Linked DNA regions of Homo sapiens: region 1 is linked to region 2. The links are contacts of gene promoters, found by promoter capture Hi-C in human tissues and cell types (Jung and others, 2019). All regions are on one chromosome and are shown on one strand. The core of a region is centred on a gene start or on the middle of the fragment in contact, and the rest is flanking DNA. Distances in the headings are between cores, read along the strand shown. Region 1 overlaps LOC105377139 (a long non-coding RNA gene). Region 2 holds the start of ICOSLG (inducible T cell costimulator ligand).

Evidence for each region. The method cuts DNA at HindIII sites, captures the fragments that hold promoters and counts their contacts. A contact is called where the count stands out against the background at its distance.
Region 1: a fragment that was not itself captured here is called in contact with the fragment with the promoter of ICOSLG in region 2 in 2 of the 25 tissues and cell types used here (dorsolateral prefrontal cortex and spleen).

Annotation. Positions count from the first base shown.
Region 1 is chr21:44,185,171-44,190,604 of GRCh38, forward strand. It overlaps LOC105377139 (a long non-coding RNA gene), which reads right to left. Exons shown (of 4, transcript XR_001755082.3): 1 at 5,178-5,434; 2 at 3,288-3,449. Among named protein-coding and RNA genes, the nearest start is that of LINC01678, 28 kb to the left of the region's middle. The HindIII fragment of the contact is 7,407 bases long and covers 1-5,434 here.
Region 2 is chr21:44,239,207-44,244,368 of GRCh38, forward strand. It overlaps ICOSLG (inducible T cell costimulator ligand), which reads right to left and starts at 1,737. Exons shown (of 7, transcript NM_015259.6): 1 at 1,598-1,737. The coding sequence starts at 1,611. RefSeq lists enhancers at 214-992, 3,497-4,035 and cis regulatory regions at 1,548-2,547, 1,548-2,472, 1,548-2,463. The HindIII fragment of the contact is 7,916 bases long and covers 1-5,162 here.

The DNA of each region.
Region 1 (5,434 bases), core at 1,465-3,964, 53 kb before region 2:
AGGCCCTGCCCTTTGGGAACGGGCTCCTCCGGTGCTGGCCTTGGCCTTGGCCCCACTTCATCCTGGCCCCTGCCCAGGCTTCCAGCCCCTGCCCACAGCTGCCCCCTCCAGGGGCTGCCACTGTCCAGGTCAGGGAAGGCTCTTCCTACCTGGGGAGAGGACGCCCTGGCCAGGAACTGTCCCTCAGCTTTCTGTGGTCTCTGTGTCCCCCGTGCCCTCCGGGTGCCCTGCTGGGGCCCTGCCTCCCCTTGTCGCTCAGCCTTCATGGTAGGGGCTGCGGGTCCCAGCGCCCCTCCTCCTCCTGGTCACTCACCTCCCACTGAAGCAGCCCCGTCCGCACCAGTGTCTGGGAAACCCCAGTGAGGCCCCTCCCTGCCAGACCCCAGGTGTGGGGGCTTCTGCTCCACCTGCTGCATCTGCCACGGGGCCCTTTGGAGAAAGTGTTTTACCCAAAGAGGCGAGTCCTGGTGATGCTGGAGCCTGGCCCTCATTGCTGTCAGCCCCCAGCACCTGGTACAAAGGCCACTCATCCCAGTCTCTGAGCCCTGAAGACAGCGGAGGGCAGCCTGAGACACAGGACCCTCTCCCACCAGCTCCAGGGGCCAATGCCAGCCTGGCCAGCGGCCGGGACCAGCACAGAGGCTGTGGATGGGGAGGGTGGTGCTGGAGGCAGGGGGCATGCTGGCGGTCTTTTGGGGGTGGTGGACAGCCCCACACCCTGCTTGCAATGGTGCGTCAGGCAGTGGCCCCTGGTGCCGGCTGCTTCCCCAGCAGTGACCTTGGCTTCTCTTCTGCAAGCCCCTGCCTGCCCCGAGATGCCAAGCCCCAGGATCCACCAGAACTGCCCTCGCTGCCTATGGCCCCGAGCGCCCACCCTCGGGGCTGGACCTTTGCAGGAGGACAAGCCATGCCGGCCTCAACTAGCGGAGACCTCTGTGGCCACCTACGGGTCCTCTGCACTGTGCGTGGGGCAGTGGGGACGGAGCTTCCTGCCCCCCGGGGCCTGCTCTGCTCCTGCTCCTTGGACCTGGAGGAGCCATATCCACACAGACATGCACGACAAATGCGGCTGCAGACACGCGTGATGAATGCAGCATGACAAGCCAGACCCAGGATGGTGCCTCTCCCCGGACAGGAGCACTGGCCCGAGCCTGGCCCTGGGTGAGCTGCACAGCCGTTCCCTGCCTCGATTTCCCATCTGAAATCAGAGCACTCCCTCCACAGGCTGGCGCGAGGACTAAGATCGGGGTAGACCCGTGACCCTAGGGGAGGGTCCCCACAGGCATGAGCTCCTTGGCTTTGTTTCACGACGATCGTGAACACCAAGCAGGCGTAAAGCATCCCGCAGCGTTTAGGCCCTACCAGAGCATAGCCTTGGCTGATGTGGTCCTCACCCACCGTGCCTGGCATGACATCTGCCGGCCTATGCTGAGAGGCCGAGAAAGGATGAGGGGTGGGGAGGGTATTCTCTGCATCTGCCCTCCTGTCCACGGGACACCGGGCCCTGACCTCTGACAGAGGTGAGCATGGGTCCCAGGTGGGCCCATCCGAAGCCTGCCTCAGGAGTGTGAATCTGTGGCTAGGGCCACTTTCCCAGGACACCTGGACATCAGCTGGCTGAGGTCCCCACCCCTGGAGGCTGGATCAGAGGGGGCCAGAGGGGAAGGAGGCAGTGTCCAGCCCCTGAGAGGAGCAGGGAGGAGGGATGAGGCCAGAGTCCGAGGCTGGCGGGCCACCCGGGGGCCACTGCTCCAGGCCTGGTTTGGGATCACAGATCACCCTGCTGACACGCTCCCTGTCAGCATCTGCACGGAGGAGTTTGCTGGCTGTGGCCTGCAGCCCACACATCCCAACCACAGACACGCTCTTTCCCCACCTTTTGGTCCCTCTAACAACTCAATGCCCAGAACTTTCTATTGCCCAGGACTCTCAGGGTCCCTTCGGAGGCCGGACAGACCCTCCCCTCCCCAGGCCTTCGTGCAGCCCCTGCTGCATGCCAGGCCCACCTTGGTGAGGCTGTGTCGGGCTGAGCTCCTGGTCATTCTGCAGCTGGCTGGGCCCAGCTCCCTTTCCAGTTGCCCTCAGGCCACCCAGGAGCAGCTGCGTAAGGATTGCTAAGCCTGAGTTATCTGCATCTTTCTTCTTTCACTAATTTCTTTCTTTTTTTTTTTTTTTTGAGACAGAGTCTCACTCTGTCACCCAGGCTGGAGTGAAGTGGCGTGATCTCGGCTCACTGCAACCTCTGCCTCCCGGGTTCAAGTGATTCTCCTGCCTCAGCCTCCCAAGTACCTGGGATTACAGGCACCCGTCAACACACCTGGCTAATTTTTGTATTTTTAGTAGAGACGGGGTTTCACTATGTTGGCCAGGCTGGTCTCAAACTCCTGACCTCAGGTGATCCACCCGCCTCGGCCTCCCAAAGTGCTGGGATTACAGGTGCGAGCCACTGCTCCTTGTCCACTAATTTCTTTTTCATGCTGATAGATGTCCTGTTCCTGAACCATCTTTGCATTTCTAAAATAAACCACCTGCTTGGGGGTGGTGTGTGATGATTTTGACACATTGGTAGTATATTTTTGCTAATATTTTATCCAAACTGTTTGCATCTATAGGTACAAGCAACATAGCTTTATCATTTTATATGCTCCCCCCCACCACCTTTTTTTGTTTTGAAATGGAGTTTCGCTCCTTTTGCCCAGTCTGGAGTGAAGTGGTGCAATCTTGGCTAACCGCAACCTCTGCCTCCCAGGTTCAAGTAATTCTCCTGCCTCAGCCTCCTGAGTAGCTGGGATTACAGGCACATGCCACCACACCTGGCTAATTTTGTATTTTTAGTAGTGACAGGGTTTCTCCATGTTGGTCAGGCTGGTCTCAAACTCCTGACCTCAGCTGATCCACCCGCCTCGGCCTCCCAAAGTGCTGGGATTACAGGCTTGAGCCACCGCACCTGGCCCTATATGCTCCCTTGACAAAAGCTATGCCTTCATAAATAGGAGGTTTCCCATCTTTTTCTGTGGCCTAGAAAAGTTAGAATTATCTTTTTAAAGGTTAAATAAAATTCAACTGGTCTGCACTTTCCTTAAAGATAAATATCCATCACCTTTCTAATTTCTCCTGTGGAAGGCGGACTATTCGAATATTCCAGTTCTTCTAGGATTGAGTTTGGTGATTTCTATTCTGCTGGAAAAGCAGCCCTCTCTGTTTTCATGGGGATGGACTTGACTGTCTTCATCAGTCCCAAAAGTCCCAGGGTGGACACTGCTGCCCAGCCTGGGTGAGATGCTCACCTTCAGCCACGTCTCGGGACAGGAGCTGGGGCAGGCACCAGCCTGGGTCCAAGGTCTCCCGGGACCAGCCTAGGTGGCCACGTGGCCGCCCTGCAGGAAGGATGGCTCTCCCTTGTGGTGCTGGGGAGGTGACTTCCATGACAGCGACTGTCACGGACACTTCTGGGAGAGATGAGAAGGGAACAGATGATTTTGGAGCCGTTCAGGTTTCACACACGGTTTTAGTCCCAACATTGCAGTCCTCATCGGCAAACGTGATCCCTCCCCCACCGCGTTGGAACATTCTGTACCAGGTTGTATCTTATTGTTTGAAAACAAGTTCTGCTAGTTAATTGGTTCGGGAGCAGCACGGGTAAGTAACCTCCCCATCTTCCCAACTTGGAATGTCTGCCTCTTTGTAGATGTATCATTGTTGATAGGCTTTTTATTAAAGTTAAATTCCCTTTATGTTTTTAACGTTTGATTATAATTTAATGTCTTCATTTTTCTTTTTAAGCATTTCAAATACCTGACAGGAAACATTTGCAAAACAGACAGCCAGACTTGTCAAACACTTAAATTACTCTTATCCTTTTAATAAATCAAGCTCATAGCAAACCAAATGCACTTAAACATTCTAATAGCTTCACAAACTTAGTTACTGAACATCTCCCAGCTTAAAGTTATAACTCTAATAGAAATAATACATTATCCCTAAACTGTACTTTAAAAATGACTATGCACTTTGGGAAGCTGAGGCAGTGGGTCACTTGAGACCAGCCTGGGCAACGTGGTGAAACCCCGTCTCTACTGAAAATACAAAAAGTAGCCGGGTGCCTGTAGTCTCAGCTAGTTGGGAAGCTGAGGTGAGAGAATCACTTGAGCCCAAGAAGTTGAGGCTGTAGTGAGTAGTGATCACACCACTGCACTCCAGTCTGGGCAATGGGAATGAGACCCTGTCTCAAAATAGTAATAATAATAATAATAATAATAATAAATAATGACTGATACAAAGAGTTGGCTCACTGAATTATTTCTAGTAAATTTTTGTTTGTTTCTATATAGTATGGTTTATTGCTGACTTTGACATATCTGTAAAGAATTTAACATTTTGGCCAGGCACGGTGGCTCACGCCTGTAATCCCAGCACTTTGGAAGGCCAAGGCAGGTGGATCATCTAAGGTCAGGAGTTCAAGACCAGCCTGGCCAACATGGTAAAACCCCATCTCTACTAAAAATACAAAAATTAGCCAGGCATGTTGGCAGGTGCCTGTAATCCCAGCTACTCGGGAGGCTGAGGCAGAAGAACCACTTGAACCTGGGAGGCGGAGGTTGCAGTGAGCCGAGATTGTGCCATTGCACTCCAGCCTGGGTGACAAAATGAGACCTTGTCTCTGCCAATTAAAAAAAATCATATTCTGGGCCGGGCGTGGTGGTTCATGCCTGTAATCACAGCATTTTGGGAGGCCAAAGCAGGAGAATTGCTTGAGTTCAGGAGTTCAAGACCAGCCTGGGCAACATAGCAAGATCTGGTCTCTATATTTAAAAAATAATAATAATCATGGCTGGGCACGGTGGTTCACACCTGTAATCCCAGCACTTTGGGAGGCTGAGGCAGGTGGATCACTTGAGGCCAGAAGTTTGAGACCAGCCTGGCCAACATGGCAAAACCCTGTCTCTACTACTGAAAATTAGCCGGGAATGGTGGCACACGCCTATAATCTCAGCTGCTTGGGAGGTTGAGGCACGAGAATCACTTGAACCCGGGAGGCAGAGGTTAAAGTGAGCCAAGATTGTGCCACTGCCCTCCAGCCTGGGTGACAGAGCGAGACTCTATCTCAAAAAAAAGTAAAAATAAAATAATCATATTCTGCATATTCATCCCATATCAGATACACAATTTGCACCTACCTTCTCCCATTTCATGGTTGTGTTTTCACTGTTCAGTGTCCTTGGTGCACAGATGGTTTAAATTTAATGTTTTTTTCTGTTGCTGCTTGTGCTTTTGGTGTCATATCCTAGAAATCACTGCCAAAAGCAATGTTGTCAAGCTTTTCCCCTGGGTTTTTGTCTGAGAGTTCTATATTTTTTGCTGTTACATTAGGGTTGTTGGTCTGTTCTGAGTTAGTTTTGGTACATGGTGTGAGGTAGGGGTCCAGCACTATTCT
Region 2 (5,162 bases), core at 487-2,986:
CTTTGGTAGCAGTGCTTACCCCAGCCCCCCAAACCATCAGTTTCTGGGGCCAGCTCCCCATGAAGCAAGAGCCCCAGGAGCAGGGACATCTCCTTCTCTGATGTCCCTGCACCTCCAAGGTCTGGGAGACGCTCATCCCTCTTCTCTGTGGCCTCTGCCTGGGAAAGCTTGGGGGCTTTGTAAGTCAAAGGTTGGTCTTGTGGGAACCTCCCAGTGGGCTGTCCCTGAGCCCTGGAGCCACAGAAACCCCTGCCCCACCCACGATGGCTGTCATCTGAGTCTGCATGGAGGTGTGTCTGTGCCAAGTGAGCACACATGCACCAAGGCGGCCCCTGGCCACCAGGGGCTCTTGAAGTCTGCAGGCGGCCCTTCCTCTCTCTCCCACTCCCCCTGTTGGGGCCACCATTCTGGCTGGCAAGATGGCTGTGATGGCCTCCAGCAGGCCCCCTGCCTCCACCCTTAGCCCCTTCAAGCATTTCCCCAGAGCCACCATCTAAACGACAGCTGTGAGAACTCCTCTGTGCCCCCATTTGTCTCCCACAGTGCCCATATTCATCACCAGCCCACAAGGCCCCTCCTGTCTATGGAGGCCTCCTCAGGACATCTGGGGGCTTCCTGGGCCAGGGTGGGGGGTGCCTGCTCCAGGCTGTTTCTGGCTTGTCCCCTCCCTGGGTGCTGCCTAAGCAGCGGCCTCTGTGTCCTTTCCTTGGACCCTCAGCACCCCTGCATCTAACCTACCCCCACCCCGAGCTTGCCTCAAGACCCAGCATGGACAGGGCCGCCTACCTGAAGGTGTGGGTGGCGGAGGGCTAAGACATTTGGGAGGGCTATGACATTCCGGGACCTTTAAATTCTTTCTCTCTAGGGCAGGATCATAACTGCATACACTTCTAATGGGGAGGGGACCTGGGGAGTGTGACTCCGGTGTGGCCCAGCTCTGAGCTGTGCGGGAGGCATCCCTGGGGTCAGGGGCCTCACAGGTTCACCCAGGGGAGCACAGGCTGCGGACCCTACAACGTGGGTTGCGAAGAGTATATTTTGGATATTTTCGCAAAAATCCAGGAGGAAGCTGTCACTCCTGGTTCAGGCAGCCCCGCCTTCCCCAGTGTGGATCGGCTGCCGGGCTGCGGGGAATCCCACGTGTGTGGGGGAGGGCGTGTCCGCAGACCGTGGGCACCAGCTGGCCTTGGAGAGCGCTCGGCCGGTCACCTCCCTCCTTCTCCCTTCTTCTAGGAAATCAGCAGTGCCAGGGAGTGGAAGGGGCAGCGCCCGTGCCCCGGCGTGCAGGGTGCGCCCGCCTTCCCTCCCTCCTTCCAGCGTTCGCGGTCCTCCTTCCCTGGCAGGGACCCCGCCCCCGAGCCCGCCCCCGCACGGCTGTGCGTCCTGCCATGGGTCCCGGTGCCAGGCCCCGCCGCCCACTGCCGTCCACGCCCCGCCGGCCGCCCCGGCGCCTCCGCCGCCCGCTCCTCGGACCCGCACTGCCAGCCCGGCACCTCCAGGCGAGCCCCGCAGGCCCCGCGTCCGAGCCGAGCTGGGGACGCGCGGGCCGAGCCACCCCGCCCCTGACCGCGGCGCCTCCGCTCCTTCCCCGGCTCACCTGCCCAGCCGCATGGTGCGGGCGGAGACCTCGGGCCGCGGAGACCTCGGGGCGCGGAGACCTCGGGGCGCGGAGAACTTGGGCCGCGGGAGACCTCGGAGAGGAGCAACCTCGGGGCGCGGGAGATCGGCTCTAACTGCGCTCCCGCCGCGCCCGAGGCTCTGAGCGCCCAGCGCGCGGTGTGCTGGAGGCAGCCGTGTCCCCGCCCCGTCCCCGCCCCGCCCCCGGCCTGGCTCCTCTGGCGACCGAGACCGCCCCGGGACAGGAGGCGGGGCGCTGCGCGGCGGCTCCGGAAAGTTCGGCTCTGCCCAGGCGTGTGCCCGTCGGCCGGAGGCGGGACAGAGGCAGGTCGGCCTGTCCGCCTGGACGCGGACCTGGGCGCCGTAGGTGCCCTGGGAAGCGCAGGGGTGGGGGGTACCCGGCAGGAAGGTGGCCAGGGGTGCTGCGGGTGCCGGCGCAGCGAGGGAGGGCACCGTGGGAGGCAAGGGCCGTTCCCCGCGCCGCGCACAATGCGCCGGTCCTGCGGCCCTCCCCGAGCAGGAGTCCGGGGACCCAGGCCCCAAGGCTGGGAGAGCGCCAGGCCCCTGGCCGGCTGCGCTCCGATGATCTCCAGGACTTAAGGCGAGTGAGCTCAGCGACTGCTGAGGAATGAATGACTGAATGAACGCATGCATGAATGGAAGGAGGGAGGGAAAGTGGGCGGGCTCTACCCTCTGGGCCAGCCCCAGCCCGCCCCCACCTAGCCTTGCTCCCCTAGCCTTCTAGGGGTGTGAAGGGCGCTGGCGCAGCCTCTTTGCTTAACACTGGCTCTGAGGATCCCCCGCCGAGAAACCGAGGCAGGCTTGCGGCTCTGGGCTCGTCAGCCTTGGCAGTGGCGTCTGGCCTGGAGTCTGGGGCAGCTGGTTTGGGAAAGGCTGCACCACGCAACCGAGGGTGGGACCCAGAGTCCCTGCTCCTTCCCCACCGCACCCAGCCCACCCCGCCCTCCCTCCCTGATCCCTGCAAGCCAGGTGAGGCCCAGGGGGGACGTGACTCCCTTTCTGCAGAGGCACCTCCGGAAGGGCCTGGGTGAGGCTGCTAGACAGGGCAGCGGGGCACCCTCCTCCCGGAGCCCCCGCCTCTGGGCTGAGGCTCGGATCCCCACCGCCTCCTGCGCATGGAGGAGGCGAGAAGCGCAGGGAGACGGGGGCCCCAGACGGCACCCCGCAGGCTGCCATTCCTTCAACCAAGATGTAGAGAACGCCGTGGACAAAAGCTTTAAAAAAATTCTGAAACCTCTGCCCGTGGGAAGTCAACATTTTTGCGGAGCAGAGAGCCCAGGCACAAAATAAGAAGGCGGAAGAGACGGGCTGGGGGGATAGGGGGGACGGCGGCGGGGAAGGGCAGGGAGGGCGGCGGCGAAGGCGCAGGAAGCCCTGAAGCCGGGCGGCTTCCCCCTCCCAGGCCACGCTGAGAGACGGGGGTTGGGGGGATTTAAAATCGCGCGCCTGGCAGGGGCGGGGCGGGGGCCACCTGCCCTCCGGCGGGAAGAGCTGGGCAGGGCCCGCGGAGTGCAGGGCGGAGGCACTGGCGGTCCGCACCCGGGTGAGGTGAGGCGCGTAACCGCATCTGAGCCGGACTCTTTAGGACGAGTCCCGTCCCTGGAGTCAGAAAACCCGGTCCAGCGCCAGCGTGGACGTGCGCTTCCCGGGACACGCCCAGGGACGCCGGCTAGGACCGGCGAGGCTGGAGGGGTGGCGATGTTGGGGGCTGAGGTTCCTCGCCCCGGGGCGGGCGGCTGCTGGTAAGGGACCGCATGGCCCCGCAGGTGAGGAGGGCGCAGGTGAGGAGGGCGCAGGTGAGCCGGGCGGGCTGCGGGCAGCGCCACCTCCTCCCGGAGGCCCTCCCTGATTGACCGGCCGGGAACCGCGCGCCTCTGGGCCTGCGGCTGAGGTCCGGGGCTGCGCCGCGCCGATGAGCTGACGCCGGGCCGAGCGCTCCACCCCCAGGGCCGGGCGCACCTGAATCCCCTCCACCCGCGGGACTGCGGAGAGGGGGACGGCCCCCGGATACCGCGTGGGGGCTTTGGGAGGATGGGGAATGGGTCCTGGGGGAGCAGAGCCTCCCAAATTAAGGCCTCCCAAGAGCGCGGCCGGTCATCCGCGGCGGCGAAGGGAAGGTGCCCTGTCGGTGCGTCCGGACCCCGCAGCCCCCCAGTGCCGCCCGGGGGCGGTGGGAGAGGGGCCGACACCGCAGGGCCCGCCGTGCTGTGGCCGAGGGGGCAGGTCCAGGCTCTGCTTCCCGGGCAGACGCCGGAGACCCCAGCAAGCCAAGTGCTGCGGGCAGCCCCCCCCCCGCCCCCCCGAGAGAGGGGACGCCGCGTGGAGGCCACAGCCAGGCAGGGGCAGGAAGGCAGCTGGGCCAGAAGGGGACACTGAGGCAGGCCGAGGCGGCCGCGGGGGAGGGTGCCAGGACCAGCCCAGGAACCTCGGAGACCACGGTAAGCGGTGGCTGGTTCAGATCCCAACTCCGGAGCTGTGTGACCCCAGAAAGTTCCTTAGCCCCTTGGTGCCTGCATCCCCTGACGTGTGACATATACATGAATGGGGCTGTTGTAAGTGAACGCACACAGCACACCGGCACATGTGTCACAACACTTAGATGGGTTTAGATGAAGAAACAGGGAAACCTTTGGGAAGTTTCCTGTAGTCAAAGGAAGGTTTTCGTTTTCCCCCTCAACCGTGACTGTTTCTTGGGCCGGCAGGATAGGCTTTTGTTCTAGGGGTGTGGAGAGAGGGCCCCTTGGCAGCGTCCAGGGCCAACTGGGAACCAAGCAGGAATCGTATTTGTGCAGCCTGGAGTTCGAGGCTCTGGGTGCGAGTCGTAGTGCTTAAGCAGGAAGCAGCTGCCTGATGCCCCTAGCCCCAGGCCGCCCTGCTCTGCCGTTTCGAGGGCGTGGGGGTCTTCTGATCTCCACCTTGATGCACCTCCAGGCCCGGGTCCTTTTGGGGTCTGGCACAGCAACCTGCGTTTGACAGCATGGGCGTCCGCTGATGCTGAGAGCTCAACTTCTGGTCCAAGGAAGATCTTTTCTCTTCGGGGAACAGTCATACATTGTTTAACGAAAAGGATACATTCCTTCTGAGAAATGCGTCCTTAGGTGATTTTGTCCTTGTGTGAACACAGAGTGCACACACTGGCCCTGGTGGCACAGCCTGCTACACGCCGAGGCTGTGTGTCACAGCCTGCTGCTCCAGGGCCACGAGCCTACGCGGCAGGTGACTGTGCTGAATAGCGTAGGCAGCTGTGACTCACTGGTATTTGTGTATCTAAAGCCATCTAAACATAGAACAGGTGCAGTAAAAATACCGCGCTGTGATATGGGAGCACTGTGGCATTGCTTGTTGACCGAAGGTTATGTGGTGCATGACTGTATGTTCGTTTCCTGTGGGCGCTGGAACTAACGACCTCACGCTTGCTGGCTCAAAACAACAGCAGTCTATTCTCTCTCAGCCCTGGAGAGCGGAAGCCTGCCTGGTGGAGGCGCTAGGGGAGTATCCTACCTGCCTCTCCCAGCTCTGGGTGG